Regions from separate parts of the Homo sapiens genome. Here region 1 is linked to region 2. The links are contacts of gene promoters, found by promoter capture Hi-C in blood cells and fetal thymus (Javierre and others, 2016). All regions are on one chromosome and are shown on one strand. Each heading gives the region's core, a stretch centred on a gene start or on the middle of the fragment in contact. The rest is flanking DNA. Distances are from core to core; before and after follow the strand shown.

Evidence for each region. Contacts are between HindIII fragments. The CHiCAGO score rates a contact against its expected background, and 5 or more counts as called.
Region 1: a contact is called between a fragment that was not itself captured here and the fragment with the promoter of SPRY4 in region 2, in 1 of 17 cell types (endothelial precursors). The highest score is 5.0, in endothelial precursors.

Annotation. Positions count from the first base shown.
Region 1 is chr5:142,202,710-142,205,409 of GRCh38, forward strand. No RefSeq gene overlaps it. Among named protein-coding and RNA genes, the nearest start is that of NDFIP1, 95 kb to the left of the region's middle. The HindIII fragment of the contact is 412 bases long and covers 1,111-1,522 here.
Region 2 is chr5:142,323,732-142,326,604 of GRCh38, forward strand. It overlaps SPRY4 (sprouty RTK signaling antagonist 4), which reads right to left and starts at 1,290. Exons shown (of 2, transcript NM_001127496.3): 1 at 1,113-1,290. SPRY4-AS1 (SPRY4 antisense RNA 1) reads left to right here and starts at 1,562. Exons shown (of 4, transcript NR_120664.1): 1 at 1,562-1,639. RefSeq lists enhancers at 1-252, 253-1,215, 697-756. The HindIII fragment of the contact is 6,861 bases long and covers 1-2,873 here.

The sequences.
Region 1 (2,700 bases), core at 67-2,566, 120 kb before region 2:
TAATTATAGATATGGTTTAAAAAACAAACAAATATGAACAAGAGTGCTTATTATAGCATGGTTTGTTAGAGGAACAAAGTGGACCTTCCCAAAGGTCTCATATAGGAGAGAGGCTAAATCACATTGCCATTTTCATGGTGGTTAAAAAGAATAAAGAATGAAGTATCATTATGTATTCTCAACAGTTCAATTAGAGCAGTAGAACCACTAGGAGGTACAGTGTGTGTGTGTGTGTGAGAGAGAGAGAGAGAGAGAAAGAGAGAGAGAGACGGAGAGGAAGAGAGAGAGGGAGACAGAGAGAGAGAGAGATGGGGATTTGACTTTAAGCAATCGGGGAGCTGGCTAAACTGTCTTGGGAAGGCTGTTACCTTCTCATCTGACACTGGAGCTTGGCATCCACACGGCAGGAAGAGAAGAGGGATGTAAGTAGGGAAGAGTGAGAACCAGCAGGAGCCCACAAGATCCACAGGAGTCTCTCTCCACCTCCAACTTGTTGGTACAAGTGTCCTGCGGGAGCAGCTGACCTCTTCCTTCATCACAAAGCCAAACACACACCTGGCGCAGGAGATGGAGCTGCTGAAGGAGGACACAGGGCAGGTGGAGCAGCTGCAGCCGTCAAATGAGCAGCAATACAGGATATCCAAATCTCAGCCTAAACGTCTCTTGGTCCCCCCTAACTGGCCATATACAGGGAAGACAGAATCCAGCCTTCCCAAATGGATGCATTCCAATGCCACCACACTGCTAATATGGAAAGATTTCCAAGATATATTTATGTGTAAGAAATGCAAGTTTCAGGGCTGGGTGCGGTGGCTCATGCCTGTAATCCCAGCACTTTGGGAGGCCAAGGCGGGTGGATCACCTGAGGTCAGGAATTCAAGACCAGCCTGGCCAACATGGCGAAACCCTGTCTCTACTAAAAATACAAAAATTAGCCAGGCATGGTGGTGCGCGCCTCTTATCCCAGATACTCGGGAGACTGAGGCATGAGAATCTCTTGGATCTGGGAGACGGAGCTTGCAGTGAGCCAAGATCGTGCCACTGCACTCCAGCCTGGGTGACAAAGTGAGACTCTGTCTCAAAAAAAAAGAAAAAGAAAAAAGAAATGCAAGCTTCAGGCTATTATGGAGAATATGTTTTTATGCTGCCGCAAAAATTATTTTTATCTGTACACATATAGGTAGGTACATACATAGAGACAGATTTGGAAAGATAAACACTGACCATGGTCACCTCCAGAAAGGGACTGGAACTGGGGAAGAGGGTGTCAACGGGACTTTGTGTTTATCTGGATTCAAGTGCAATTGAAGGCAAACATAAAAAGCAAAAAGAAAATCCCCTCTGTGTTAGTGTCTTCTCAAGTCAGGGGTGTTTTACTTCTCTGCGAGGACCCTCATTTTTAGTTCTTTCAAAATGAGCAATGAAGTAGATTTCAAGACACTGTGAGGTGTGTGTAGATGGTCAAAGGGTTGTTCTTGTGGTTTTCTTTCTTCTCCGTTTCAAATTGTTAACAGTACAGCGAAGCTTTACCACATTGCTTTGGCCTTTTGCTCCTGAGAGGTGGGTGAACCCCCAGGGCTCCGCCTGCAGCCAGTTGGGCATTGGGGGAGGGGTGGTGACCCCTCCTGGGCAGAAATCAGCAGAAGTGATGATGTCCAGTTGGAATGCCAGGACCTCCTGCAGGGGTTGAGGAGGCAAGTCCCTCTGCTTTCTCAATAGTGATGCTACGTGCCAGATATTCCTTCTAAGAACTTTGCTAGTGTCATGGACTCCAGCTGGGGCACTACTGGGAGCCTGCCCTCTGTGGATGGCACATGCAGATCTCTGGGGTTTATGCAAGAATAGTCACAACGATTTTTCAAGAGAGAGAAACAAATAGATGATGAGCCTCAAGAGGCTTCCAGCCTGTTAAAAGTGACTCCATGAGGCCCCTCCCCAACCCCACACTGTGTCTCCAGGCCCAGAAGACAGCCTCCCGGATGGGGCTACCCCAAGAGTCCCACCTTTTCCCAGAGCCTCTCATTCTCCCGTCTTCTAGGAAGCCTTCAGGGGCTTTCTCCATTGAGAAGGTCTCTCCCTTCTCTTTTTTCTGTTAAAATCCCAACCATACTTCAAATCTCTCCAGAAGTTTCTCATCAGCCACAAGGATTTTCATTTTCCATCATCACCCAGCTCTCCCTTAAGGCAAGACATGGTACCCAGCCCGGTGCTCTCAGCAGGGAGCTTCTAGCTGTTGTTCCCACAGGGGTTGTCCTGCCTGAGCCCATGGCCTCCCTAGGGGAGCCCAATCTGGGGGCCAGGTGAGATGAGGGCACCAGGGCCTGGCCACTTCAGCCTGGCAAGGGTAACTCTGCTGCAACATTTGCTCCAGAGCTCTGCACTGGGCTGGCCACGCATTTGACAGGTCTGCATTGCAGCTTGGCTTTTCCCTCTGCCTACATCTGTTCCCGTGCACCTCTTTCCTTTCACAGTTATTGATCTCTAGTAAACATCATGCACCCTCAACTCCATATCAGCCTCTGCCTTCTGGAGAACCCAATTTGTGATAGTTGGTACAAGGAATGGTCCCAGAAAGCAGTTGACAGGTGGGTTTTGGAACTGGACCAGTTATCACGGGGCCAGCATTAAGAGGGGTGAGGCACAGCAGCCCCTGGGTCAGGGCAGTGGCCCAACTATGGATTCCCCTGGTGAGGAAGGAGG
Region 2 (2,873 bases), core at 40-2,539:
GTCTAAATGCTTTTTGATCGTCTGCATGGAGGGGGAACTGGGCACAGCCCTGGACCCAGTGATGGAGCCAAGCTCTAGCTGCCCTGGCTAGCCAAACCCGCCCTCACCCAGCTCACTGTCCCCGGGGTCTTGGCGATTCAGAATTTGTCAGAACATACCGTCTCTATCCTCTTCTCTGTGATGTCAAGCCTGGTACCACCAAGAAGGAAGGAGGGAAAGCAGGAGCCTTATCTCTCCTACATTCGCAACCTCTTCCTCCAGCTCCCACACGCCTGGTGTTATGTAAACGCACCTTCAACCCCCACCGCAGCCCTAGCGCGGCCTGGGGGCTCCGGGGCCTGGCACAGCTCGGTGCCCGAGGATAGGGAGGTACAGGGTGGCCGAGGAGCCTCAGGCCTTACAGAGGCCAGGCAAGAAAAAGTCAACTGCAAGGCAGTTGCATAGCATAAAATGCGGCAGCGGAGCAAAGGTCAGACGGCGAGGAACCGCCTCGCCAAGGAGAGGGAGTAGGAATGCCCAGTCCTGAGCCAGCCCCTCGCTGACCATCGAGGGAGAGGCAGAAGGGGAGGGAATTCAGTCCGTCACGGCTCCGAAGAGAAAGAAAAAATCTACGTCGAGCATAGGCCGCTACGGCGGGCTGGGAGATACACGGCAAAGCTGGCACCGTGGGCACCGAGCTGGGAGGTGGGCGAGCCGCCCAGAGCGAGGGCGCCCCCCGACCCAAACGGTGGCTCCTGACCAAGCCCAGAGACGCCCGTTCCAGCGTTCGAGGCGGATGGTGGCAGGAGAAGGAAAGAGGCCAGGCCAGAGGCAAACTCCCGGGACACGCACGGGGCTTCCCGAGTCTCAGAGGGCGGGGAAGCCGGGCTTGGCAATGCCCAGGGGTCGGAAACGGCGGTGCCAGGCTGTGAACACCCCCGGCGCCGTGCCGGCCGGGCCGAGGGCGTCAGGGAGCTGCGGCGCACCGCAGCGACTCAAGGAGGCGCAGGCTGAGGGAAGGAACACTGAGGCGCGCCTAGAAATAGCGCACCATTTGCCCCAGCCCAAGGGGGGAGTCGCGTCGCGGCTCAGAGAGGGGCAGTTTCAGATCTCCAAACCAGCCATGGACTTACTTTGAGGAGCTGCAGGGTCACAAGCATCGCCCCACGTCTGTGTAAATCCTGAAGCCGGGGCAGGTTAGCCGCCGCTGTACTCGCAGACGCCGGTCGGAGGAACCGGCAAGGCTCCCTGCGCTCCACAGCGCCAGCTCCGCGCTGTCAGCTCAGCTCGCTACCTCCGCGGCGATGTTGCAACCACTGCCTGGGAAAATGGCTTTTTTATGAATGGGAGGGAAGGGAGCGCCAGTGCGCACGCGTGCCGTTCGCGATTCTATGAATGGGTGGGCACAACAGACCCTGAGCGCGCATGCGCTCCGCTCCTTTTTTTATGAATGGGGGGCGGGAAAAGATCTTAACCCGTGATTGCTGGGACTGGCTCAAGCTCCACCAGGAGCCGTCGTTCTTTTACAAAGAGGGGTGGAGGTTCCAGTGGAGGCTGTTGTTGCCTTTTTTTTTTTTTTTTTAATGAATGGAGGGCGGCGGCGACTGCTGCAGCTGGGCCAGCTGCGCGGGCTGCACCCCCTCCCAGCCTGCGAGAGGAGGTAAAGGCCACCTTCACGCCACTGCGGGCCTGGGCAGGAACCGTCAGTGTCGCTGGGGGGTGGGGGACGCTGCGGCCTCCGGATCCCGGGTTGAGAGCAGGGTGGTGGAGGGCACACCTAGATCTGGGGATCTCTGCCCCCCGCAGGCAGTCAAAAGGGGGGGCGGGAGGACCCCTACTGGGGGCCTTCTCTTGCTCTAGACCAGAGACGCCAGGCGGGAGGGGTCTTGAAGCTGCGTTTACCAAAAATTAGGAAAATGTCCATCATTCATATCAAAGGGTGGGGTGAGGATTGGTGAGTGAATCTGGTTCTTTTTCCTGAGGCTGAATCTCTCGTGAGTGCTGGCCGCCCCTCCCCCCATTTCTTGGGTGTAGACAGTGACTGGGCCCAGGCCTCTTCCGGCTCCAGTACCCCCCGGGGCGATTCTGGCAACTCAGCCAGAGGAAGCCTGGCCCTCGCCTCCCAGCGTTCCCCCCGCCCCCCGCCCCAGTGCAATGTCCGCAGTGCCCGGGCGTCTGCCCGCTCTCTGTCGCCCTAGCTAGGTGTCCTTTCTCTGTCCCAGTCGGTTTCCCAGCCCTCACAGGACGCTGGCCTGAGGAGCCTCGGTCCACCGAAGGCCCACGGCCCTTCGCTGTTGTAGGCGCCTTTCCCCAATATCCCCCACCTCTCACCGGCCTCCCCTCCGGGGAAGTGGGAGCGGCCGAGAACTGGCCAGGTGGATGGGTGGAGCCGGCTGCGCCGAGGATGCTGCCGGGGTGGCCTCAGGATTAAATAACAACGGGGCTCTTGAGCCGCAGAGGAAATGGAAATGGCTGGGGATCCTTTCTTCGCTGTTAATGATGGTGGCGTTGGGGGGCGGGGGTGAGGATCAGCTCAAGCCGGTGAAAAGAAAAGCCCCCGCCATTAGGCCTGACTCCAGGAAGGCGGGGAGCCCTCGCAGCAGGCCCTGCTCCTCCCTGGAACGGAGGAGCCTGTAGCCTCCGGGAAGTCCGGGGCGGGGGGTGGCTTTGATGCGTGGATAAGAGCAGAGTCTGGGCCAGGGCTTGGCCCTGAGTCCCTTGTAAGGTCTGTCTTGCCGCTGTTCTGGCCGCACGGGGAGATTGTGTGGCAGTCTTTTTCTTCCTACGCCACTATAGGATTGTGCTTGGCTGTTGTCAGAGGAACCAATGAAAGGCTCCCAGCCCAGGGCTGAGGTCTGGCCTAGGGCTGGGGCTGGGACTCTAGAGGCAGGCAG